7 separate regions of the Homo sapiens genome follow, and all the other regions are linked to region 4. The links are contacts of gene promoters, found by promoter capture Hi-C in blood cells and fetal thymus (Javierre and others, 2016). All regions are on one chromosome and are shown on one strand. Each heading gives the region's core, a stretch centred on a gene start or on the middle of the fragment in contact. The rest is flanking DNA. Distances are from core to core; before and after follow the strand shown.

Region 1 (3,914 bases), core at 1,203-3,702, 270 kb after region 4:
TGCTCTTTCAATAACCCTTTCTGTCTCCTGTATTTTCAACTTTACCCTCTCTCCTGGGTCCTGTCCAGACCATAAACATATCCACGTTTCTCTCATCTTTGAAGAAAAGTGCCCAAGAACTTCGGTGGAAATGACCACAAAATGATAACATTCAGGGTTCTAAGGAAGGAAGGAGAGAAATCAGCAAGATAAAGAAAAATGGGCTGCAGGAAGGTAGACTTTCATGAACTCAGGGTTTTGGCAAGAAAAAGCCAATGCGAACGAAATCTGAGGGACAAAGGTTCTGAGTGAACAGGATGCCCTTTTCACATCCTATGCTAAATTTGTCATGCTACCCTTCTCGTGTACAGGGTGGTGTCGCTCACATTGAATGTTTCTTCCAAATCCCACTGCGGTCCAGTGAGTTAGGCAGGGGTGAGATTGGGTGGGTGAGCAGAGGCTTCGGGGACTCCAGGAGGAGCTGGCACTGAGCTAGGGTGGGGCCCGACAGGCACCTCAAGAAAGAAGGGAAAAGATATCCCAGTGGCTGTGGCCAGCAGGGGAACCAGAGAACGGAGAGTCTCACGGTGCCTGCAGGAGAGATCATTTGCGTGGGAAAAGCGCAGCTGAAACAGGTTTCCTTAGACCTGGGAGTGCCTGTAGACAGAAATCAACTTATCTTTATGGATAGGGATCATTGAAAGAAGAAAATGATGGTATTAGCAAAAAGTTTGTGAGACAAAAAGGAAAAAAAGCCAGTCTTCAGTTTGTAAGATCAAAAGAGAGGACCTCGGGAGCCAGCTTTCTCCAGAAAATGTTGACACAAAAGCACAGACATTTTATGAAAAGAAGTCCAGGACCATCTGAACAGAGCAGAAATCCCTCTTGATGAAGCTCTGGAGGTGAGGCCAGTAGGCTTACCACTACTTACAGGCCTTTCTCCACTATTTACCAACTGAGTGATCTACAGCCTCCCGATACCTTTTTGTTGTTGTTGTTGTTGTTTGTCTGTTTTTTGAGACGGTCTTGCTTTGCTACCCAGGCTGGAGTGCGGTGGCATGCTGCAGCCTCAAACTCCTGGGCTCAAGCGATCCTCCTGCCTCGGCCTCCCCGAGTGCTGGGATTATAGTCGTGCACCACCATGCCTGGCCTACACGTTGGTTTTCTTCACCTCCATAATCCACCAGCCAGGCTCTCTTGCAGGTGTAACAGGAATCAAATGTGACAGCACATGGGAAAGTGCTTTGGGAATGGCAAAGCCTTAAGCAGCTCTAAGCCACTGACACTGACAATGGTGGGAACTGGTAAAGAACATTCTAACAGCCCCTGCACTCAGCTCAAAAGAGCCGTGTGGGACTAGACAGGAAGATGGTGAGTCCGCCCAGCAGGGTGAAGCTCTGAAGGCTGGTGGAAAACAAGGAACAGTTTTTTAAAGCTGCACAAGGGAACTACCATCTGCATTAATAACACGAACCAGGATTTTTCTTTCTTTTCTATTTGTACAAATTTATGGGTTGCATGTGCAATATTATTTACATGCATAGATTGTGTAGTGGTCAAGTCAGGGCTTTTAGCGTATCCATCACCTGATAAATGCAGATTTTTCAAGGTGGACCTTGTCAGGGGATTCTCCACTGGGGGTTTCCCTCTTGGTCACCTCAGAGGACCAGAGTTAGATTTTATTTAAAGAAGACTGCAGAGTTCTTACAAGGTGAAATCTCCATCTCATCAATGGGGAAAGGATGACTCAAGTAATTACAAATCTACTGTGCATCTAGAGAAAAGGCTGCATTTGATGATGGAGAGAGCACAGGCTTGAGATCCTAGCTGACCTAGGTTCATATATGCCCTTTGGTAGCTATGTGGTGCTGAATTCATAGCTCATCCACTCTCTGCCTATCAAATGGGGGCAATAAGGCTGATCTCAAAGGATGAAGCTGCACAGCACAGACAGGGCTCCTCAGTATTATACATGCCAAGTCCAACAGTTCCTGGGATGCTGGGTAGTGAAGAATGAAGCTCTGTGATGAGCAAATTTTCTTGAACCAATTTAATTTCTGTCTGGAGAGACAAGATCAGAGGGAAATCATGCATCTGGGATGGTTGTTCTCAACTGGGGGTGATTTTCTCCCCCAGGGGACATATGGCAATGTCTAGAGACATTTTTGTGACAACTTGGGGGTAGTTGCTACTGGCATCTAGTGGATAAAGTCCACAGATGCTGCTAAACATCCTACAATGTGCGGGACCGCCTTCTACAATAAAGAATTATCTGGCTCTAAATTTCAATAGTGTCAGAGCTAAGAAACCCTGGTTTGGCCCAAAGCAGAGTTTTTGTTGTTCTTCCCTGATATGGTTTGTCTGTGTCCCCACCCAAATCTCATCTTGAATTGTAGCTCCCATAATTCCCACGTGTTGTGGGAGGGACCCAGTGCGAGATAATTGAATCATGGGGGTGGTTTCCCCCATTCTGTTCTCATGGTAGTGAATAAGTCTCATGAGATCTGATTATTGTATAAGGGGTTTCCCTTTTCCCTTGGGGCTCTCATTCTCTCTTGTCTGCTGCCATGTTAAGACATGCCTTTTGGCTGGGTGCGGTGGCTCAGGCCTGTAATCCTAACACTTTGGGAGGCCGAGGCAGGCTGATTGCCTGAGGTTAGGAGTTCGTAACCAGCATGGCTAATATGGTGAAACTGTGTCGCTATTAAAAATACAAAAATTAGCCAGGTGTGGTGGCGCATGCCTGTAATCCCAGCTACTCGGGAGGCTGAGGCAGGAGAATCGCTTCAACCTGGGAGGCAGAGGTTGCTGTGAGCCAATCCAGACTATGCAACAAAGCGAGACTCCGTTTCAAAAAAAAGACGTGCCTTTTGCCTTCGGCCATGATTGTGACACCTCCCCAGCCACGTGGAACTGTGAGTCCATTAAACCTCTTTTTCTTTATAAATTACCCAGTCTCAGGTATGTCTTTATCAGCAGCATGAAAACAGACTAATACATTCCCACAGTATCTGTCAATAAGCCAAGTGGACCCAACTGCATATGTGGAGTTGTTCATGATCTGAAGCAATAGGTAAGGAGAAATATTCGTTGTTGATTCAGATGTTAGCTTAGGGGTGTTAACAATCCCTGTCTGAGGCTGGAGTAATTCATTCAGAATATGTTTATTGGTCGCAGAGGACACCAAGTTGGGATGACTTGTTAGTAAACTGGAGGTAGGAAATCATGTCCTAAGTTACCTCGACAAACAAGAGAAGTGGTTTTCCAAGAGCAGAATGAAATTCTTATTGGGGAAAAACTGGTTGAGACGTTAGGGTCATAGGAATGACCTGATGGCCACCAGAGACTAAAACATAAACATGGCCCGTGGTCTAGATAATGAGAGACAAAGGTTGAGAATGAATCTTTCAGTATTCCTCAGACCCAACGAGGCCGTTTTAAAGTCTTCAGTGTAAGGCCCTGCATTTTAAGAAGAGACATGGAGAAATCCACAGAAAAGCCAGAACAATCGCTGGAAAATAAAAAGATCTTCTGAAAACAGATAAAAGAGTTTGAGTTATTCAACGTGGAAAAGAGAAGATTAAGTGTGCCTTGATTTGAGCATGAGAAAGATTATCACAAAGAGAAAAATGGCCAGCTGTTTTCCATCTCCATGGAGGAGCAAATTATAGGAAATAGGCTGTGATTGCAGCACAAGGATGGTTATGAATAAGAAAGCATTCCTAATTGGAACCTGGAACAGACTTCAGAGGAAGATGGTTCAATTCCCTTTACTCAAGTTTGCTTTTTAGCAACTTTCGTGTATTTTTATACATGAAGTATTGACCTGACCACAGACAGGAGACTGGACATAACTTCCTGGGCCCCTAGTTTTATCGTTCTTTCTGCCTATGTCTTCACAAGGCCCAATTAACTAGCTGATGAGTGAAAAATTC
Region 2 (3,643 bases), core at 1,010-3,509, 510 kb before region 4:
TATTTTGAGCTTAAGTTAAAAATAATGCTTTTAAAAACCTTTATATTTAGTCGCAAGCACCACAATAAGCAATTGCCAGTCAAGCAAAACTAAGATTTTTAAAAGTTTAAAAAAAAAAAAAATCACTTACCCCTTCAGCAAGCTCTAAAAGTGGAACAGGTTTACATTTGCAACTTGAGACAACTATTTTGTCGCCACTGGAAGATGCTGTTACTAAAAAGTTATCTAAATGAGGAGTTATGGAGCATCAAACAATCCATGAACATCTATAGCACTAGACTATTATAAGAATTGCGATTATAAAAGCTAACACACTAAGAAGACAAGCAATGAGTATAGCTTACAGAGTAGCTTTCAAAAATGGCTCACATTACTATTAATAATTACTAAGACTAATTCTCTTTGCTACTACTGCAGGGAAGAACTAGCCTTCTTTCTGGCTCTGCTATCACTCAAAAGCTATTTAACCCACGTGAAATACTACTCTGTTTTCAAAGAGTAGGCCAGAAGGGCTAATTTTATCCTTCAAGAATGAGAGCATGATAAAAGCAGCATCAGCAAATATCAATCAACCTTTTCATCTACAGAAACTGTTCAAGATATTTATTAACCTAGTGCTTGGTAACAATCTAAACTAGGAAGCAAACATCCACACTAGTCTCCTATTTTTCTATTTAAAAAAAAAAAAGGCCTGATATTTTCCCAGAACATGAATTTTTGTGATAGAATGTTTCAATCTTAAATTAAGAATGACTATTACAGTAACTTGCAAATATTTTATAAATATGTATGGTTAAATAGGAATTGTGTTATGAGTTTTAATTTTTAAATAAAATGTAATTTTATTTACCTTCTTTTACACGAATTGTAAATGGAACAATCAGTAAACACAAAACAGTAACTATTTTAAAACTAAAATGATTAAATACAATAATATAACTAAGAATAAGAGTCTGATTTTGAGAGCCATAACAAATTAAAATATCAGAAGTTTAAATCTGTGCTTTTTAGCAATTAAAATCTGTGAGTAAAAGCAATGGAGAAAGGTTAATTAGACACTCAGAATCCCTAACTGCATTAACTTTTGAATGTTCTGTATAACTTTCAGGTATTTTGTAAACAGAGCATAGACTGTAATTTTATTATGATACATGATGCAAATCAAATCATTCCTACCTAGATATTACCATAGCGAGAAAAACCATTTCCCTTTCCTTGACTTCTTCCTGTTTACCACTACTTTTCTCCTTAGAATATAGAAAAAAAAGGACTGAAACATAATGTGGGTGGGTAATCTAGTTCTTTTTTATTTCTCTTGTAGTTTTAGAAATCATGAGAAAGTGAGGAACGTAAGTTAAAGGACAAGAAACAAAAAACTAATCTCTCTGGTGTCTCACATTAACCCCATTCTTGGAATCTATACTATGTGGACCCCAAGTTGCTAAGGCTGGGAACTCCTTGTTCTTCAGTAATTAACCTCCATGGAAGTGATCAAAGCCTTATTAAGAATAAGACTGTATGAAGGCTTTCAGTGCACATCTGCTCATGCAAGAAAACTGTAAGACCAATTTCCAAAAGTCATACAACACTATCTCATAGCTACATCAGTTTTGTTGTTAGACTATTAAGTAGCACATCAGTAAATGCCAACTCCTAGTAAAACTTAAAACAAAAGTCAACCAAAAAATAATCTTACTACAAATTGCTACCTTTCTCTTATATAGTAAGAGGGAAAATTAAGCTCTAAACATAATGAAAATCTAAAAATAGAGAACAGCAACTTCATATACTTGTCGCTCTCTTTAAAATATTTTCCCTATTACACATCTGGAAAGTCCTTCAAAAATGTAGTCACTTCACCATGAGTTTGATTAACAGAGTACCAAAGTAATTTGTTTTACTGCAAAATCAAGGAATGATAAGGAGGTAAATTTAATTCAGTAAGAAAATTTGTCCTTCTTGTTATATACATGCAAGAATAGTAAGTCATATAAAACTTTTAATATTTTTGTTCCTGAACCAGTCACATTTTAAAGCTTTGATTTTTTTATCAGAAAGTAGAATACTTTGGTGTTGATAAAAATCAGATAAATGTTAAATCTTAATTTGTTAAGAAATAGCGTATGAGTTTCACAAAAGAAAATTTCTAACATACCAATTACATAAAACATTTTCACATAAAAGGTGATAGGAGCACTGTGGTCACAGCAGTGGTTCTCTACTGGGAGTGATTCAGGCAATTCTGGAAACGTTTTGGGTTGTCACAACTAGAGGCTATTGGTACCTAACGGGTGAAGACCAATAAACCTCCACGTGGTACAACATACAGGAAAGGTCCACAACAAATTTTCTGCCCCAAAAAGTCAATAGCACAGGGTTCAGAAACCCTAGTTTACAGTCTTCACTCCCTCATTTTATTTTATCCACATTGAGGAGCTCACCAAGACAGGGAAGGTGTCAATCAGAAACATAAAAAGCTTAGAAAAGTTCAATCTAGGTAACTTTACTATGTCTGTTTAGGAAATGTAATTTTCATCACACACACAGAGAGGAAGGAAGATATGGAGAGTACATTAGTAAGATGGAGATATTGGGCAATTTTTTATCTCCTCCCCAACTTGCTTCTGCCTTCAAGTTCTGTCTTTAATTTTCAGTTCAGATCCACAAATACCCAAATGTAGATGCAAAAACTCATTCCAAAACCTTTTGGAATTATTTCCACAACTACCAACCTTATTCCATTTGGTTCAATAAGAAATTTTTGATAACTAATTCTATGGTGTAGACAGAATATACTTTTTTTAATAGCAGTGTTTTCAAATGAAGTGGGTTGTAACTAAATTTTTTTTAAATGAACGCAACAGATAAAATCAGAGTGCATTCATATGATATATTGTTTTGTAAATTACTATTTTACGTTATCTATCCTTGGTAGCAATGCAAAACACATTACTCAGTATGAGGCACATGCAAAAGTTTCATTGACAGTGGTTGTTTAACCTAATAAGCGGTTTGTGTGTGTGTGTGTGTGTTTTTTTTTTTTAAAGGATACTATTGCTGCTCCAACATATTGAGCTGATTCCATGTGGTGATGTGTGTGGGTTGAATTTATCCACCAATGTCATAGATGAAGCATCCCATATTTTAATATCATCTCCTGATGAAGCAAATCTGAGGTTTTCCTGCATGACTGCGCCTACAAATAGTTTAAAACAATGTATTTTAAAAACATTTAAGAATAGACATACTCAAAAAAAGGTCAAAATCTAATCTAAAACAAGTGGCTCTAACTCATTCATTTTTGTTCCAAACAGTGCAGTCACCAAAGCAGTTGAAGTGATTTTCCTAAAACATAAGCCAGGTCGCATTCTCTTAGCTGACCCTTCCAATGGCTCCTCACAGTAATGATAATGAAATCCAGCCTCCTTAGCCTGCCTTACATGTCCTGGCCCCCATGTAACTCTCCTCTTTCTTTTCACTGGCCTTCTCTCTGCCTCATGCAAAGGCAAAGTCATTCTCACCTCAGTGTCTTTTCATTTGCTGCTCCCTGTGCCTAAGATGTTCTCCCCAGATTCCCATGGTCATCTCCTTCTCATCATTCAGGTCTTAGCTCAAATGTTTCCTCCTATGAAAGGCCTTTCCT
Region 3 (3,728 bases), core at 1,205-3,704, 400 kb after region 4:
AGTGTATTTTCCCCCTAGGGAAAGAGTCCACATTATTCATCAGATTCCCAAAGAGATCTATAATACAAACATTTAAGAACTGCTATTATGTAGGTATGCAGATAATTTAACAGGGATTTCAGAGGAAATATACAAAGATAAAGCTAGGGGGAATCAGGCAAAAATTAAGGAACTATGATTTCATCTGGAGAATGGAATTGCATTTAAGATATATAAGTTATAGAGAATAACTAGAAAAACTCTAGGAAAAGTCTGAAAGATAATATTTATACATGCTAAAAAGTCTAAGAAGAGCAATTCTCATTTAATGCTGAATACTTCACAAAGTAAATTATCCCTGTGCTCCCAGTAGAATATCCTCATCTGGAATAAGTTTGCACAGAATTTACTTAGTGTGCAATTTGTTTCTTTTATTTTTATCTGACTTATTTCTATATTATAAAATATTTAGGATTTTAATCTGGCTATGCATTTCTCTCCAGCTCCTTTCTTCCAAGGAATCCTGTTGAAATGATACGGTATACTTCTTTATTTTGCTCTTAGGCACCTCTTCCATTGGGGCACATAAAGCGAATGCAAGAGGTGTACAACTTCAATGCCATTAACAATTCTGAAATACGATTCAGGTACATCATTTTAACTTGTCTCTGTGGAAGAAAGCAGAAAACTAAACTCCTTTGAAAGATGGAGAAAGGGAATGCAGAGTATGAGACATACTTGAGTCTTGAGAATTCCTTGTCAAACTGACTGCTTCTATATAAATACTTATAGTGGTATTTAAGGAATAGTTGCAATATGTAATCTGGTAGTATTAATCTTTTTGTTAGACTTTGCTCTAAACCTCTCTTGCCTTAAAAGAAAAAAAAAAAATTAGAATGAAGGATTCCGTGGTAAATAGGCTTTCTCCACAACCAACTAAATCTACTTTGAAATGGGAATAGTTAGAAATATTTTATTCTATTATATGTTAATCTTTCTTAATTCAAATTTGTAATGTGAGGCTTAAACCAAAGTTTAATTCCTTCAGAAATTGCATGTATAAGGTATGTGAGCACCTACCTGATCTTTCTTAATTCAAATTTGTAATGTGAGGCTTAAACCAAAGTTTAATTCCTTCAGAAATTGGATTTATAAGGTATGTGAGCACCTACCTGATCCAGACCTTTAAAAATATATGATCTTTTTCAAGAACCAGCTCCTCTTCTTTCTCTTCACCAATTATTAAATTGTATATATAAGGATTTGAGAGTCTCAGAATCAAGACATACCATAAAGTGGTGTACAGTATAACTATAGTGGGGTTATTCATATCACTACAGAAGTAATATTAAGATATACCTGTCATATCCTGCCCCTTCCTCATTTTCTACTCCATGCTCCCCCCAAATCCTCCTTTTAGATGGCTGCGGCTCTGCATTCAATCCAAGTGGGAGGACGCAATTCCTTTGGCGCTAAAGATGGCAACTGAACAAGGAAGAATGAAGTTTACCCGGCCCTTATTCAAGTAAGAACCCACTCAGACCGTACTTTGAATTCATCTAAGAAACAGGAAGAAAACTGTCAAATATTTAAACGTAATCTATATGACAATATTTTTTAATTTGTTAAAGTTTATCAGTATAATTTTGGAATAGGGATTCACACTTATAAATATTTAAAATGTGAAATAATTTCATTCCTCTTTTTAGAAGCATTATATATGGATTACTATTTTGGATCAAATAGAGTTAGATACTGATAAAATAGAAATAAATCAAAGATAGCCTTATATACACAAAGATTTTTAAAGGTAACTAGAAGATAATTGGTGGGTAGGTATAGACAAGAAAGAGAGTCTGAAGTTAAATGTAAGGAGAAATAAGCAGATAAAGCTAACTCTTTTGTGTTCAAATGTTGCATAGAGGTCAAGGGTAGGTTGCTTGACATAATAAAGGAATGCTTAGTGAGAGGGGGATAAGTTGTATCTTGACAGCAAGATACAAGAATATCTCAGTCAAGGTCTTTATGAATTTTGTCCAAATTCTGGAAAAAAAAATCATGCCATAAATATCCATGATTACTTTTGTTTGCTTTTCATTTACTTCACAAGTATTTAGGTGGGTGCAAAAGTAATTGCAGTTTTGGCCATCAAAAGTGATGGCCATATAATATCATAAAACTTGGCAAAATAAGTCATTATCTCTTTTTTGATGTGACCACAAAATTAAGTTTTAAGTATATTTTATATGCTTTCCCTAATTAAAACCCATCTAGCTTTGAATTGAGTAAAGTATACTTTAAATAGGTTTTTAAATAAGAGTATACTTGGGCCGGGCGCGGTGGCTCACGCCTGTAATCCCAGCACTTTGGGAGGCCAAGGCAGGCAGATCACGAGGTCAGGAGTTTGAGACCAGCCTGGCTAACATAGTGAAACCCTGTCTGTACTAAAAATACAAAAAATTAGCCAGGTGTGGTGGTAGGCACCTGTAATCCTAGCTACTTGGGAGGCTGAGGCAGGAGAATCGCTTGAACCCGGGAGGCAGAGGTTGCAGTGAGCTGAGATTGCGCCATTGCTCTCCAGCTCCTCCAGCCCGGGTGACAGTGCGAGACTCTGTCTCAAAAAAAAAAAATGAATAAAATAAATAAGAGTATACCTTTTGTGGGAAAAATAAGTATTTCTGTTTTATGATGTTTATAGTAGTTACATTAAAAATGACTAATCCTACCTTTTGTATGGTAGGTCCTTTTTATTTAGTGTATTTATTATTTATTTCGTGTATTATTTATTATGTATTTATTATTTCACTGTGGTCAGGACTTTTATTCTCAATTATTTGAAGTTTTCAGAAATTCTATATAAATTTTAGTGTTTTCATACTCTTAAAATCTTGATTAAAAAATTTTTTTTAAAAGCAGTTTTTAAAAAGAAAGGCTTTGAGGCTCACTCTCACATACAGGGCTGATATTTAGCCAGGAGATGAGAGGACTCTGTTCAAATAATAAAATCCTTCCATGCTGCTTGGTAAATAGCCACGGGTCCCAGCCACTCTAGCCCTTCCCTGTAACTTGCTGCAAAATGTCTGATCTGCCAGTATAAAGGCCAGTCTCTGGTACAGAAGGAGGTCTCTGGGACCCTGTGGCAGGACCATACCCATCTGATTGGCTGGGACTGGTGCCTTATTTGGGTGATGCTGGCTGTCACCCCTGCTGACATCCTTTAATTTAATCTTGGGTATTGACTTGTGTTCTTATTCTCTTTCTCCTTCCTTTTTCCTTTCCTCTGAACCCCTTCCCTCCTTTCTTTCTTCTCTCCCTCCCTTTCTCCTCCTCTGTCTCCTTCTCGCCTTTCTTTCTTTTCAATTTTTTCTTTTTTGGCAGGGATCTTGCTGCCTTTGACAAATCCCATGATCAAGCTGTCCGAACCTACCAAGAGCACAAAGCAAGCATGCATCCCGTGACTGCAATGCTGGTGGGGAAAGACTTAAAAGTGGATTAAAGACCTGCGTATTGATGATTTTAGAGATTTCTCTTTTTTAAATGGAATTCGTAAAGAAATATAAAACTTCAGCTCACAATTAAAACTGTCTTTTTAGTTTTGGCTTTTTATTGTTTTGTTGGTGATTTTACTGAAATAAAGTTGAGCTACTTCTTCTTATAGTGGCATATTCTTTGTAAATTTTAACAAGGTTTAATCTTTTGATTTACAAATTAAAAAATTTTGAATTAGCTTTATATTAATTTTCTCTCAG
Region 4 (3,964 bases), core at 992-3,491:
TGTAATCCCAGCATTTTGGGAGGCCGAGGAGGGTGAATCATCTGAGGTCAGGAGTTTGAGACCAGCCTGGCCAACAGGGTGAAACCCTGTCTGTACTAAAAATGCAAAAAATTAGCCGGGCGTGGTGGCGGATGCCTGTAATCCCAGCTACTTGGGAGGCTGAGGCAGGAGAATCGCTTGAACCTGGGAGGCGGATGTTGTAGTCAGCTGAGACCACGCAACTGCACTCCAGCCTGGGCAACAAGAGCAAAATTCTGTCTTAAAAAAAAAAAAGAAATAACAAACCAATCAATCAAATAATCACCTAAGTTTTCATTATGAATTCGTCTTTTTTTTTTCTTTTTGAGACGGTGTCTCACTCTGTCACCCAGGTTGGCGTGCAGTGGCAGAATCTCAGCTCACCGCAAACTCCGCCTCCCAGGCTTAATGGATCCTCCCACCTCAGCCTCCCAATTACGAATTCTTTGTTATGCTAATGAAAGATGTAGAAAGAGGAGAGGGTGCTTTGGATGAGACAGAATAATCTTTTTATTTCTCATGGAGTAATGTTAATCTAATGATATGAAGGTATAAGTATTAATGCTGAAACTCAGAATGCCATTTCATAGACTCCCTTTTTTGGTGATTTTTTGATATTTACTAAAGTACTAATTTAGATGAGGCAAGTATATGAAAATCCTTTCATATAAATAGGCCTTGTATAAATATCAGTGTTTCTCTTTAACTTAAAAAGAACTCTGAAAATGATGCTACATCTTGCTATATTATAAAGTTCCAAGTTTGACTTGGACAAATCTAAAAAGCCTCATTAACAGTGCTTTTAAACAAAGCGCACTTGTTCTAACGGAAAGCTTGTTATGTATATTTGCATTCTTGGTTGGTAAACAAGTGTTAAATACGCGTAGAGCATAATTGTTGCTAATTTACGGGTCCTGGTAATTTTAGAGGCATGGGAAAAGCCTGATTGACACGTACGATCGTTGGATATAACTGTAGATGCATTTAACTTTGCCAAACAAAATAAGAGAAAGATGTCAGCATGCAGCATTTTTAAGGGGGAAAGGATTCATCCCTAAATCCAAAAAGATAATTCCCCGAAGTTCTTAGCACATAATGTGATTTGAAACTTCAAAGCAGCTTCTACTTCCGGGTGTTAACATGGGAAAAAAAATTTATCTCACTTCACAGGACTTTTATGTGGGTTTTTTTTTCTTGTTTATGTTGTCTACATCCGGTCCCTACTCTCTTCTTTCAATCCTCTCATTATCTCCCTCTAGGGGTTTAAGTTTGTTTTAACTTTATGCTTTTATCCTTATTAGTGGAAAAAAGTGGGTCAGTATTACTTTAGTTTGTCTTCACTGCCACTCTGCTGTTCATTCCTGAACTAGCTTTTAGCCTCTGGGAAAGGAGAAAGTAAAAACAGTTGCAGAAACTGGGCCAACCTCTCGCGGCCCGCCTCCCCCAAGAAAACAAAACCTAACCCGTGCAACAGTAGTCCTTTCTGTTTTCATAGCACCTTGTATTTCTCCGCTCATAACGTTCAGATTTTTATGATAGTTATTGATCATCTTTCATCCCAGCTAGACTCTCCGTCCTTAGAGGACTCAGCATATTGCCGGGCACATGATAATATATACAAAACACTGTACTGTAGTTTAAATGAATAGATGCCGTGTGTGTGAGAGACTGCGGCACTAGTACCCACGTACCCACACACAACAAAGGAGAAAAGTTGCAGCCATCAACATCTTTCAGTGTGGGTCCTTTGACATGGACTCTCTAGAAAGTCAGTGGAGAACTGTGGCATGGACACCTTGTACAGTAATTACTTGTATAACTGAAGCACGAGTTTTGGTTTGGTAGCGGGAAGTTGAGGGGCAGGGGGATGTTGGAGGGGCTGAATTATTCACATAATTTCTCCCCCAGTCGCTGCGGACAGGCACTCATTCCGGTGGGGTCCCCTGGCCCCCTCCGCCGCTCCCCCGACGCCCGCATTTCGGAGCGGGCAGTTTCCCGGGGACACCCGCCCCGCCCTGCAGGCCCCGCCCCCGGCCGCCGGCCCCGCCCCCGCCTCCGCCGCCGCCGGCAGGGGTCGCGCTGCCCCCGGCGAGCCGCTCAGGCGGGGGTGGGGTAAGCTCCCGCGGCCGGTCGCTTTTCTCCGCCGCCGCTGGTTGGATCGTTTCAATAAAAGTGTTTTTTCTCTTGCACTCGCTCTCCTCCGGGGAACAGGCGGAGGCGTCAATCCGCAGCCGCCGAGTGTGAAAGCGACGCACACGCAAGGAGCGAACGCGGCCGCCCGCAGTCTCCTGAGCTCCCCGCGGGCCGCCGCAGAGCCGCGGAGAAGGAGCCAGCGCCCGGCCAGACAGTCTCAGCCCGCCGTCGGCGCCCGCCGCGCTCGCGCCCGGCTGCTCCGAGGGGATTAGTGGGCCGTCCGCGCGGCTCGTCGGCGCGGGAGCCATGTTGACCGAGGGACTTGGCAACGCGTGAGACACCCGCGGCCCCTCCCGAGGCTCCGGACCCGCGGCGAGAGCCGGAAGGCGGCTGTGGCGGCGGAGGCCTGCGCTCGGAAGCGCCTCACGTCTGCCGGCCGCTGAGACCCGGACTTGCATCCGGTCGCCGCGGGCGTCCGCGGAGCAGCTTCCCCCCGCGCCTCTCTTCGCCTCGCCTCGGGACCCGCGGTCCCCGCTCTTGCTGGTGAGTTGGCGGCTGGCGTCCGCGCCGCGCTTTCCCCTGGTGTCGGGTCGGCCGCGGGGCCGGGAGGCTGCGTGGGACAGAGGCGGGGGCGGGGGCTACTGGGGGCGCGGGTGGCTCAGGCCCGGTCGGGAAGTTGAGCGAGGAGGCGCGGCGCGGGGGGCTAGCGTGCGCCTGTCACCTCTCCGGTCCAGCGAGGACCTTGGGTCGCCCGGGGATTTCCGGGGCTCGGGTGGGGTGTGAGTGTCTGCGAGCTGCTTCCCAGGAGGCGCCGACAGATATAGACGCCGCCGCCTCCGGTGCTCGCTGCCGCTTTGGTCTGCGGGGGAGGCCGGTCTCCTCGCGAGGCGGAGGAGGGGAAAGAGGCAGAAAGTCCCCCGAGACACAAAGGTCCCCTCGGCGGGGGTGGAGCTGGAGGCGCAGGCGACGCTGCCCGGGAGGGGAAGGAAGGGGCGCGGGTCCGCGGGAGGTGGGCGAGGAGGCGGCGGTCGCGGCGCCTGCAGCTCCTTGGAGACGCTGGCGCTGTGCGCGGGTGGGGAGCGCGGAGGAGGAGGAGGAGCCCGCGCGTGGGAGCGGGTAGAGACAAAGATCAGGGCAGCCTCCTGCTGGCGGGTCACACCCCGGAGTGTTGGTCAAGAGCGGAGGTAGAGGGAAGGTGGGAAACCCAGCAAACCGATGGGGAGGGGAAAATGGGGGGAGGAGGGTGCCTAGTGCTGTCTCCGTCGCAGTTGCTTTTCTCAGCATTTTTGTGCCCGATGCTATGCCCGATGCTTTTGCTCCCCAACTCAGCTGGATAGCTCCAGATTCCCTCCCTCCTGTCACCCCCACACTGCCACATTGACTCTCCTGTGGTTTTTCCCTCGTTCTCCCCCTACTTTTCACCCACTCCTTTTCGGGTAAGCAGTATTTTGCTTTCAGCTTGGGGAACATTTGTTAATGACAGGATGTCTGAGCTTGTTCTGACCCTGAACTGCCTTGAACTTCTCTCTCTTCCTCCCACCCTTTCCTTTTCTGGGATCTATAATGTCACATGGCCGTTAACAATTAGCTTTTCTTTTGCAAAAGTGGCAAAAAGCGTTTAGCTGAAATCTGTGGCTCTCGCCTCCTTTACATGAATATGTCCACCAAAGACACCTCGTTGGTCATGTTCTATCACCTCTTCGTCAAATTGACATCAGGTCCTAACAGGTCACTTTCAAGATACAGAAGAGGCAAATTTTGTTTTGAGACTTGGCCATTCCTAGGGTCAGCAAAGTGTATTCCTGGCAGCCAG
Region 5 (3,542 bases), core at 50-2,549, 460 kb after region 4:
GAACTTTCAGGCATTTGCTATGCAATCCAATAACATTTTCCCTCTCTTTTGGTACAGAGCCTTTGTTTAGCCATCATGCTATTTTTATTTCGCACAACAAAGACATCCACTGACTTCAACATTTTTTCTGATTGGAAAGGGGACTTTATAATCCCTTCCTAACAATAACTGGTTCTGTTCCTCTCCCTCCCTTTTGTTCACCAACCTTTCATTCATCAATACAGGAATTCATGCATATGGAAGTATAGAAGTATAACAACATCTGGAGACTGCTGATTGCATTTACATGTTATATGAACTATATAATAGAGACAGAATAAGAGCAGATATCTGCTCTTAGCAATTGGTTTAAAGGAACAGAACTTCCAGTTTTTCTGTGAGTGAAAAAGTCCTTGAACCCATGGATAAAGATGCTCATTGCAAAAAGACTTTAAGGATAAAGGGAATGAGAGTGGGAAGGAGAGTGAATTTAGATAGATAGAAGGACCAAAGGAGTGAAAATGTGACAAGAAAGAGGTGATCAGAATCCTAAGAGTGGAGATGAGTACAGAGTGTAAAATTGAGAAAATCTACAAATCTTTAGTATTAGCCATCCAAATTCCAAATACTCATCAACCACAGGTTGTCACCAATTTTTCACCGATCTTTCTTTTCCCCCGTGAGAATGAATTTAATGCCTGTGAAAAAATGTTCAGTCATTTGAAAAAGTATAATGTCAATGTTATAGTTTTTATTCATTTTTTTCTCTTTTATAAGCTTTGACATAATTTTTTAAATATTTGTTTTTATAACCACTGGAACTAAAATCAGATGCTAATTAGTAAATATTAGCACATAATAGTTCCCACTTACTGAGCTGGTCTGTAAGCCAGGCACCCCACTTGGTTAAATCCATTGCCCACTGAATCCTCAAGAAAGCCTTAAGAGGTGTGTCCACTTTATGAAACAGGAAGCAGAGGCTCAGAGATGCTGAGTAATTAAGATGTAGGCTCCATGAAGACAATAGTTTTTGTTCTTTTTTGTCTTTTTAAAAATTGCCCTGTCCCCCACACGTAGAACAGTGCCTGACACATAGTAGGTACTCAATAAATGTTTTTTGAATGATACATGAACTTGCTCACACATAAGTAAATACCAAACCAAGATTCAAAAATCAGGCTTGTCCAAAGTCTGTGTTCTTAATCATCTGCTGCTCTGCTTCCGGGATATTTAGCTCTTATATATGGCTCTTTGAGATTCCTGAGGCACATATTTAAATGAGTAGCCCAAAATAGAATGTGTTGTCCATTGTTTCTGCTGCGGGCACATTTTTAAATATAAACTCCTGGGTGTCCTTTATCCCCAAAATGAATATATCTTTATTATTTTTCTCATTGTAACAGTTACACCAGCTCACTGAGAAATTTGAATGATACTCAAAGTATAGAAATCAGAACAAGGATTAGGGTAAGGCCAGTGAAGCTCTAGCTTCATGCATAAAATTTAAGGGGAAAGCAAAAACTCAGTAATCAAAATAAGCAATATTTTAATTCACTATTTTAAATATATAAATTAATGTAAAAAATTCATGATAAATGAAATAACAGAATTTTAAATAGAGACAAGTTCTGTGGGCCAGGATTTGGGTGAGTAGAGTGAGGCACTGGCTCTCAGGGTCACACAAGTACAGGGTCAGAGACTGTCCGTATTTACAATTTTGATATTTTGTTCATTATAGAATTTCCTGCATTTATTTGGAATTTTATAAAAATATATTGCATTAACATTTAATTTATCATAATAACTGAAAGTTGATTTTTTTGTTTTGTTTTTGTTTGTTTATTTTGGCAATCCTTAAGCTTTGCAGCTAAGATTGAGTGCCTCAATCACCTAACCCTAATCCCAAACCTGGTAAAAATGAGAGACTGCACCAAATCACATGTAATCAAGATTCATGTTTGATGAATGGCATTTCAAACACCTCTCAGATTTTTGCATGCATTTTTTAATCCACACTATCCCTACTCTTTTGAAATGTTTTGTTTTTTAACCAATACCATGGAGAGAGGTAAATAGTGACTACAGCATCATTTTAAGGGCCAACTGGAATTTATTTTATGGATATACCATAGTTATTTGGTCAACTCTGTATTTATGAAATGACATTGAACAAACATTATTGCACATGCTTTTTTGGCTGCTTGTCTGATTATTTTCTTGACATAAGATACCAGAATTGAAATTGCTGGGTCAAAGAGTATGTGTGTGCTCACTGCTTTTAAAAGCCATAAGGACTGTTAAGGAGTCATTGGCAGTTGAATTTAGCCCTTTTATATGATGTTCATAGAATTTTTAAAAAACGTATTTTTTTTTCTTTCAACAGGGCCAGGCAAGAAAATGTCCTCAAATTTATTGCCAACACTGAATTCTGGAGGTAAAAAGAAATCAATCAATATATTCTTGTTTGGGCCTGGCAGTGTTAGGCTCCATAACAGATTGTGAGCATAAGAAAAGGAGAATGTTACACCATAAATATAAAATGTAATGAGTTTATAAACTACCTGCAGAGAAGATTCTGTTCTACTTTTTAATTCAAAAAAAAAATCTTCAAATCAGAGGGTGCATTAAATTGTCATATTTAGCCAGATTGCCCCAGTCTCTCATGACAGAAAACAAGTAACTCAATTATTTGTCATAGTCAAGGACATACCTAACTAAACTTTATGAAAATCTGCCCTCTTCTTTCCTTTCCCACCCTTTCTCATCTTATCCTTCTGCCTATTTTTTATTTTTATTTATTTTATTTTATTTAATTAATTACTTTTTTTGAGATGGAATTTCGTTCTTGTTGCCCAAGCTGGAGTGCATTGGCGCAATCTTGGTTCACTGCAAACTCCGCCTCCTGGGTTCAAGTGATTCTCCTTCCTCAGCCTCCCAAGTAGCTGGGATTAGAGGCATGCACCACCACGCCCAGCTAATTTTGTGTTTTTAGTAGAGACAAGGTTTCACCATGTTGGCCAGGCTGGTCTCAAACTCCTGACCTCAGGTGATCCACCCACCTCGGCCTCCCAAAGACCTGGGATTACAGGCATGAGCTATCATGCCCAGCCTCCTTCTGCTTATTTATGAGCATACAAGGAATTAGTATTTATTGGTATATAAGGAATTACAATTTTCTCTTACAAATCTGACAAAAATTTAACATTTGGATAACACTAAGAGTTTGTAATAGGTAACAGGCACTCAGGCTCTCTATAGGCATTCTCTTTAAAGGAACATTTGACACTATTTGTATTTACAATGTAAAAGTTTGGCTGCAAGAGACAGAAAATATAAAACAACTGTGGCTTAAACATGATAGACGTTTGTTCTCTCTCAGGTTAAGTCTGGATACAAGCATTCCATATGGAGGTTCACATCAGGGGCCCAACTCCTTCTGGCCTGTTCCTGGGCTATGTTCTTGGTCCAAGACGGCTGCTTCCACACCAGTGATTACATCCATATTCCTGCCAGCCAGGAGAAAAGGGGAAGGGGGGACATGCCCTGAAGTTGCATTCACCACT
Region 6 (3,908 bases), core at 83-2,582, 420 kb after region 4:
TAGTGCTTTTGCGTTTGTTCAAAGAAATAGTAAAACTGATTCCATTTCTCAAGGATGGAGGTCCTCTCTTAATGGTGTGGCTTATCTCAGAGCCATCTGGTTTTTCTCTGGAATGTTCCATGATGGCTCAGTTCCCCAGATGTTGAGGTGATCAGTCAGGAGTCACACTGGCACAGTTTTCATGGAGATAGCACTGCCTCTGAAGATAATCAAACGCCTTTGGAATCTATTTTTCCTATTCCACATCTGCCTCAGTTCTGAATCCTAGAGAAAGTGCTGAGTAAGCAGCCCCAAAAGCAGGTCACAGGCTGAGTTAGAAGATGGTTATGTGATAGCTCCATAAGGTTTCCCATGAGATGGCTTTTGTATGTATGTGTTTTTTGACAAGCTTACTTCAGAATGTGTGTTTTATGTTCTCTCACATTGTTTTACACTGAAGTCAAACCCACACTAAATAAGCCTCAGAAATTGTGGGTCTCTCCATTCACCTCAATACCACCCCATCCCCCAGATGGAATAGTAGTTTTTATGAACTCTATGTAGTCTTATCTCACGTACCAGTCTTTTCACTGTAGGGAAGAGGTATCTATTCTACATTTACATCATTGCTTTTAAAGGGTATCTCATAGTTTTTAGAAATTACCATTCAATTACTGAATATGGGGCAGGGGATAATTAATTCCTCACTAAATTCTTCTGCTACCAATTGCCTCAGCAAGAATTTCAGCCAAAAGTCTTTTATTTTTTTCAATTAAAGATTGCTAATTATTGATAAATTTCCAATAGGCTAATATTTGGGAGTTCTCTTGCAATACTGCTGTTACCTGAAAGAATATGTGTCTCAATTTTCTGTTGCAGATACGGAGCCCCATCACACATGCTGGATATTATGGGAGTTAAATTCTAATTGTTTTAATCTAATAGCCAACAAACAAATTTGGAACAACTAGAGGACAATAAAAACATGTCTAAGTTCTAAATTGATGCAGAATTCCATTGCTATAGGGATTCAGAGAATGGAGAAGAGGCCAAGACCAAGGAGCTAGACCCAATGGGCTCACAGTTACACATGCAGAACAGAGTAATCCACACTTGAGTAGGTTAATGTAACACATACATCTCTAACTCTTTCAAAGTTAGAAACTTTCTTGCACACAGCAAGTTCTCAGTTAATAGGTAATGAATATTCTTGAGCCCAAGAGGCAAAGATTAGCTCTTTAGAACCAGGAAGAAGGATCTGTTACTGCCTTTTCCTGGGTGCTTGCTGGTTTAAGTAAAGTGCATGATGGAATAGAATTATCTGAGGCTGGGTTTGGTGGCTCACACCTGTAATCCCAGCACTTTGGGAGGCCAAGGTGGGCTGATCACTTGAGGCCAAGAGTCCAAGACCAGCCTGGCCAACATGGCAAAACCCTGTCTCTACTAAAAATACAAAATTTAACTGGGTGTGATGGTGCATGCCTGTAATCCCAGCTACTCAGGAGGCTGAGGCACAAGAAATCACTTGAACCCGGGAGGCAGAGGTCGCAGTGAGCCGAGATGGCGCCCCTGCACTCCAGCCTGGGTGACAGAATGATACAGAAAATAAAAAAAGAATTACCTCAGAGTAATAATATTCAGCAAATTTAAACTTGCCACCTACTTAAAATGGATTCATGAGGACATATTGGCCACCATCTGCTGTTGAACGCTGACACCAGATTACTGAGTAAAGAATTTGAAAATTTTCTCAAAATTGATTGTTCCAGACATTTTGGTAGTTGCTCATCAGCAGAGTTTCCCATTCAACAGATTCTTCTATGGAACACAAATTTGCAGTGCCCATTGAAGAAACAGAAGTTGCTTTCAAACAGATGTGTTGGTCTCTGTTTTTAGTTTCAGGCTATAAACCTTTTGAGGGCAGGTACTAACCACCAGGTTAGTACAGTTATGGTGCTTTAGAATCTAATCTCAAGAGAAAACATCATTTCAAGGTTCATGTTTTTTCAGCCTCCAAATTGGGTGTACATGATCCACCTTTAAGGCTTTTTGTTTTTTGCTTTTGTGCCCCTTTATATCTCTTGCAGGAAGACTTGTCTCTTTCCCTCCACCCCACATTTGTACACAGACTGCCACCTCCACGTTAAAAAAGAAGGCAGGAAGGGGTTGTACTTGAAGTGACCAGCAAACATTATCTTCAAGCCTTAACCTCTTTTGAAAGATGGTCTTTGCCAATAGGGGAGAGACAGTTTCTGGAGGAAACTTCCATGGTGAATACCCAGCCAAAGTAAGCTTTTTAAAACTGCTCCTGACCCAGAAGGCACATTTCAATATAGGCTGACTAAATGGAGACCCTCTTTCAGGCCCTAGACTACTTGGCCATTGGCATCCATGAACTTGCTGCAATCAGTGAGAGAAGAATCGAGCGGCTCTGCAATCCCTCCCTCAGTGAGCTGCCTGCCTTCCTGGTGGCTGAAGGTGGTCTGAACTCTGGGTTCATGATAGCTCACTGCACGGCAGCAGCCCTTGGTAAGGACACTGCCCCTTTCCCAGAACACACGCCCGTCCATCTAAGGGTCTTTCCATTTCACCTAGAAGTATCAAATGTGGTCTGTGAGTGAGATCTAACTTTTCACCACTTTTATCTGCATCCTAGTTCTCTCAGTGCAAAGGTAACAGGTTAACTCTAATATTTTTCAGAAAAAAATAGTTTAAAAACTTCGATACTGTTATGCTGAAATATAATAATACAATAATAAGGCTGTAATGGACAATTTCTCTGTGGAAAGCAATTTGACATTGCATATGAACTTCATCTCTATAGCTTTTTTCCAAATCTCCATTTGAAGACTATTGGAAAAAGACTAAGATGGTTATAGTTAATGGTGAAACTTGAACCAACCTATAATTAAACTTTGAACTTTTAAACCTATAATTAAACTTTGGATTCATTTCACTAGATATAACAACCACTAAAAACATAAAGATGTTATTGCAACATTAAAAAAATGCTTATAAGAATCAGGATACCCTCTGTGAAGATTGAGCTTCAATATAGTTTATTTCTGACTCAAGATTGTAAGAGACAGATTAACACATCAGAACAGTGCCTGGCACTAAGTAAGTACTAAGGGCCTCATTTATGTTCATTCACTTAATTGCACAATTGTCACCTGAGGTAAGTGCTATTATTGTTATCTATAGATGAATATCTGAAGATCTGAGAGTTAAGTGACTTGCCCAATATTGCACAGCTAGCAAGATGTAAAGCAGAATTCAAACCCTGAATTTTGGCATGCAAAAATGTGCTTTTACTTCAATTAATGAGGATCTCATTTTAATCAATACTTAATCCTAAAATAGGGTTGTCAAATTTAACAAAAACACAGGATGACTAGTTAAATTTGAATTATTTGGGACATACTTGTACTACAAAAATTATTTTTTTAATCTAAAATCAAAATTTAACTGGGCATCCTTTACTTTATCTAACAACCCTACCCTAAAAGGCAGGATAGCATGAGTTATTACATGCGTAGATGCTAGATCAGAAGCCCAGCTCTGCCATTTACTAGCTCTGTGAGCCTCTTTATCCTGTTGATCCTCAATTTACACCTGCATAAAATGGAGATCAGTTTACCTAAGGGGGTTGTTTGGAGGATTAAATGAATTGATGTATATAAAGCCTGGCACATCATAAGCACTAAAAAAATACTAGTTGCTATTAATATTATTCCCAACGAACACAAATAACCAACTAAGAGCCACTGAATTCACCTCCTCTGACCGGTATCTTCTATTTGCTTACTTGCTTATTAATAAAATACCCCTTTAACAGGTAGAAATTTCTCACAATAACGTAGTAGTGGGGGAGTAGTCATTGATTTCTAGAGAACAGGATGGACATTGGGAAGCCTCATTTGAATATG
Region 7 (3,547 bases), core at 806-3,305, 340 kb after region 4:
AGAGAGAGAAAGAAACCATCGAGCTACACTATCCCATATGGTAGCAACTGTTTAAATTAATTTTTTTTTTTTTTACAAAGTCAGATTGCAGAAGTGCAACAATCCCAGAGCAAAGCAAATGGTCCCTCTTCTCCTGACCTGTCTCAGGGATAAGCTGAGAGTGGCGATGTTGAGCTTAATTAGGACTTAGCTATTTTTCTATGTGAGGTGATAGGATTTTAAGAGTGACCTTATTCCTCCCTTCCACTGAGTCCTGCAGCTGGTTTTTGGGTGCTGCTACTCACACCTTACAAGTGTCCTCTTGCCTGGTGGTTACAGAAAGGAAGGACAACTTCACCTTCCAGTCTCCATTTCAATTGGGACCGTTGCTGGCAGTTTATGCTCCATTAAGTTGCCCAGGAGCAGCATTTACTGCACACTGAGTTATGTGGGTCTCTGAAATTCTACCCCTATTCTTATGAAGACCTGAAAGTATTGTTTAATAAAAGCTCTTTCTTATAATAATCATGCTTATTTGCTTATATGTGAGTCTCTGATTCTCTATCATTAATTTTTTCACTTGTGATAAACTAACAGAGACGGGTGATTTAGACAGGCAATAATCAGCCAGTACAATAAACTTTTAATTTAGGCTGGCTGCTAAAGAGACACCAAAAGAAACAAATACGCAGAACAGGGTAGCACTCAGGCTTTAATCTAACTATTGCTCCACCCCACTCTGTATCACTGCCTTGTTAAATCTTTCTTTGGTATTTGTCCCTTCCCTTTCAATCCTACTCTTCAACTTGGTTGAGTCCCTTGATCACATCTCACACTAAGTCCATTAGCCTTCCTAAAATGTCCCTCCTCTAAGGTCAGTCTCCTTCAAAACACCCTTCAGCTGAATTCATTTGACAAATATTGAGCATCTACTGCCCTCAAAGAATTATGGTTAGTAGGGAGACACCTTGGTAAAATGAAATACATATAGATATATAGACACAGATATACAGTGAAATGTATTTATTGGTTAATGTTCCTTTGGTTGCAAATGATAGATAAATCAAGCAGGCTTAAGCTCAAAAAGGGAATTTGTTAATGCACAAAATCCAAGAATATATCTTGAATTTAAGTGAGGCATCATTCAGAGGATCAAATAATGTCACCAGCAGACTCTTTCCCATTCTCTCTCATTCTTTTCACTCTCTTTATTTTTGCTTCATGCTCAGGCAGTATGTGAAGTCTGCTAGCAGCTCCAGACTTGCAACAAAAACTTGTGTGTTTCTTCCCAGCCGCTCATGCTCAGTCCCAGGATTCACTCTAGTTCGATGAACCTGGGTCTCATGATCACCTCTGAACTGTAGCTCCTTAGTGCTCTGATTGGCTAGACTTAAATCACATGGGCTACACCCAAAGTACGGGGTGGGGGTGGGGTGGGTTCCTGAACGCTTGTCAGAGAAGGCGGAATAGAAGCTAGTGTTAAAAGAAACAGTTTAGACAAATTAAATTTAACAGAGTTTATTTGGGCAAAGAATGATTCATGAATCAGGCAGCACTCAGAACCAGAAGAGGTTCAGAAAACTCCACTTGGCAGTGTGAGCAATGAGCTTTTCTAGGGTGAACACAAAAGCAATGTAGAGAAACCACTTGATCGGCAACAGCTAGGCATCTGCCTTATTGGGCGTGGTCTCATCAATTGGATGCTTATTATTGGCTGAAGCTTCTCTGTGATTGGCTGAAACCAGGCTATATGTTACAAAAATATACTCCTAAATTAGGTTTCAGTTTGTTTACATACTATTAGGTTGCTGTTTGTTCCACAGAAACTCAAAATATGGAGAGGGCCTCTGGCCAATGGCCTCGTGCTTATTTAATTTAACACTAGGTAGATAAAAAACAACAAATATTTCTATAGTATGGGTAAGATATATTGAGAACACAATAAACAGGTGCCTAAATCTGCATGTGAGTCACAGAAGACATCACAGCAGAGGGTAAATCCGAGTTGATGCTTGAAAAAGGAGCAGGAGTTTGCTGACAGGCAGGGAAAGCCAGGAGGATTGGGAGGGAAGGGGTCCCAGTGGCAAGAATGGCCTATGCAGAGTCACAAAAGAAAATAAACTATGTGTCCATCAGACATGGCTTGGGTGTGTGTTCCCATCAAATCCATGTGGAATTGTAGTCCCCAGTGTTGGAGGTGGGGCCTGGCGGGGAGGTGATTGGATCATGGGGGCGGATTTCTCATGAATGGTTTCGCATCATCGCCTTGGTGCTGTTCCTTTGGTGCTGTTCCCGTGATAGTGAGTGAGTGCTTGTGAGATTAGGTTTTTTAAAAGTGTACATCACCTCCTCTCTAGCTCTCTCTTGCTCTTGCTCCCACTATGTGAGACACCTCGCACCCCCTTTGCCTTCCGCCGTGATTGGAAGCTTCCTGAGGCCTCCCCAGAAGCAGAAGCCACCAGGATTCCTGTGAAGCCTGCAGAACCATGAGCCAATTAAACCTCCTTTCTTTTCTTTTCTTTTCTTTCTTTTTTTTTTTTTTGAGACGGATTTCCGCTCTTTCGCCCAGGCCGGACTGCAGTGGTGCAATCTTGGCTCACTGCAAGCTCCGCCTCCCGGGTTCATGCCATTTTCCTGCCTCAGCCTCCGGAGTAGCTGGGACTACACGCAACCGCCACCACACCCGGGTAATTTTTTGTATTTTTTTTTAGTAGAGACGGGGTTTCACCATTTTAGCCAGGATGGTCTCCATCTCCTGACCTCGTGATCCACCCGCCTCGGCCTCCCAAAGTGCTGGAATTACAGGCATGAGCCACCGCGCCTGGCCAATCTCCTTTCTTTGTAAATTACCCACTCTCAGGGTTTTTTTTTTTTTTTTTTTTTTTTTTGAGATAGAGTCTTGCTCTGTCACCCAGACTGGAGTACAGTGGTGCGATCTCGGCTCACTGCAACCTCCGCCTCCTGGGTTCAAGTGATTCTTCTGCCTCAGCCTCCCGAGTAGCTGGGATTACAGGCGCCTGCCACCACACCCAGCTAATTTTTGTATTTTTAGTAGAGATGGGGTTTCACCATAAGCCAGGCTGGTCTTGAACTCCTGACCTCGTGATCCACACGCCTCGGCCTCCCAAAGTCCTGGGATTACAGGTATGAGTCACCGTGCCTGGCTTCTTCTTCTTTTTTTTTTTTTTTGAGATGGAGTCTTGCTCTGTCACCCAGGCTGGAGTGCAGTGGCGCAATCTCGGCTCACTGCCACCTCTGCCTCCCGGGTTCAAGCAATTCTCTGCCTCAGCCTCCCAAGTAGGTAGGATTACAGATGCCTGCCACTACACCTGGCTAATTTTTGTATTTTTAGTAGAGACGGGTTTCACCATCTTGGCCAGGCTGGCCTTGAATTCCTGACCTCATGATCCACCCGCCTCGGCCTCCCAAAGTGTTGGGATTACAGGCGTGAGCCACCGCGCCCAGCAGATATTTCTTTATAGCAGTGCGAGAACGGACTAACTCACCATCTTTTTGCACAAGGCAGAGAGCCAGATTAAAAAGGCAGGTTGTGGAGCCTGATTGCTTG

Evidence for each region. Contacts are between HindIII fragments. The CHiCAGO score rates a contact against its expected background, and 5 or more counts as called.
Region 1: a contact is called between a fragment that was not itself captured here and the fragment with the promoter of CDK17 in region 4, in 3 of 17 cell types (activated CD4 T cells, non-activated CD4 T cells and total CD4 T cells). The highest score is 6.4, in activated CD4 T cells.
Region 2: a contact is called between a fragment that was not itself captured here and the fragment with the promoter of CDK17 in region 4, in 1 of 17 cell types (fetal thymus). The highest score is 6.3, in fetal thymus.
Region 3: a fragment that was not itself captured here is called in contact with the fragment with the promoter of CDK17 in region 4 in 4 of 17 cell types (neutrophils, M2 macrophages, monocytes and 1 more); the score reaches 14.9 in neutrophils.
Region 5: a fragment that was not itself captured here is called in contact with the fragment with the promoter of CDK17 in region 4 in 8 of 17 cell types (fetal thymus, monocytes, naive CD8 T cells and 5 more); the score reaches 11.2 in fetal thymus.
Region 6: a contact is called between a fragment that was not itself captured here and the fragment with the promoter of CDK17 in region 4, in 1 of 17 cell types (neutrophils). The highest score is 7.3, in neutrophils.
Region 7: a fragment that was not itself captured here is called in contact with the fragment with the promoter of CDK17 in region 4 in 17 of 17 cell types (activated CD4 T cells, total CD4 T cells, total CD8 T cells and 14 more); the score reaches 41.0 in activated CD4 T cells.

Annotation. Positions count from the first base shown.
Region 1 is chr12:96,127,103-96,131,016 of GRCh38, reverse strand. No RefSeq gene overlaps it. Among named protein-coding and RNA genes, the nearest start is that of LINC02452, 43 kb to the left of the region's middle. The HindIII fragment of the contact is 6,105 bases long and covers 1-3,914 here.
Region 2 is chr12:96,909,305-96,912,947 of GRCh38, reverse strand. NEDD1 (NEDD1 gamma-tubulin ring complex targeting factor) reads right to left here. Exons shown (of 16, transcript NM_152905.4): 3 at 3,053-3,196; 4 at 131-225. The coding sequence starts at 3,188. Among named protein-coding and RNA genes, the nearest start is that of NEDD1, 3.9 kb to the right of the region's middle. The HindIII fragment of the contact is 441 bases long and covers 2,039-2,479 here.
Region 3 is chr12:96,000,736-96,004,463 of GRCh38, reverse strand. It overlaps LTA4H (leukotriene A4 hydrolase), which reads left to right. Exons shown (of 19, transcript NM_000895.3): 17 at 544-626; 18 at 1,400-1,504; 19 at 3,358-3,711. The coding sequence ends at 3,475. The region is part of intron 3 of LOC102723340 (a long non-coding RNA gene); the gene reads right to left. Among named protein-coding and RNA genes, the nearest start is that of HAL, 6.3 kb to the right of the region's middle. The HindIII fragment of the contact is 9,911 bases long and covers 1-3,728 here.
Region 4 is chr12:96,398,716-96,402,679 of GRCh38, reverse strand. It overlaps CDK17 (cyclin dependent kinase 17), which reads left to right and starts at 2,241. Exons shown (of 17, transcript NM_002595.5): 1 at 2,241-2,694. RefSeq lists an enhancer at 1,258-1,477 and silencers at 1,898-2,227, 2,318-2,497, 2,678-2,837. The HindIII fragment of the contact is 3,343 bases long and covers 854-3,964 here.
Region 5 is chr12:95,935,344-95,938,885 of GRCh38, reverse strand. CCDC38 (coiled-coil domain containing 38) reads left to right here. Exons shown (of 16, transcript NM_182496.3): 2 at 2,363-2,413. The coding sequence starts at 2,377. Among named protein-coding and RNA genes, the nearest start is that of CCDC38, 5.5 kb to the left of the region's middle. The HindIII fragment of the contact is 1,082 bases long and covers 759-1,840 here.
Region 6 is chr12:95,979,156-95,983,063 of GRCh38, reverse strand. HAL (histidine ammonia-lyase) reads left to right here. Exons shown (of 21, transcript NM_002108.4): 16 at 2,201-2,266; 17 at 2,343-2,508. Among named protein-coding and RNA genes, the nearest start is that of HAL, 15 kb to the left of the region's middle. RefSeq lists an enhancer at 425-594. The HindIII fragment of the contact is 1,883 bases long and covers 391-2,273 here.
Region 7 is chr12:96,054,973-96,058,519 of GRCh38, reverse strand. No RefSeq gene overlaps it. Among named protein-coding and RNA genes, the nearest start is that of TRD-GTC2-8, 21 kb to the right of the region's middle. The HindIII fragment of the contact is 707 bases long and covers 1,702-2,408 here.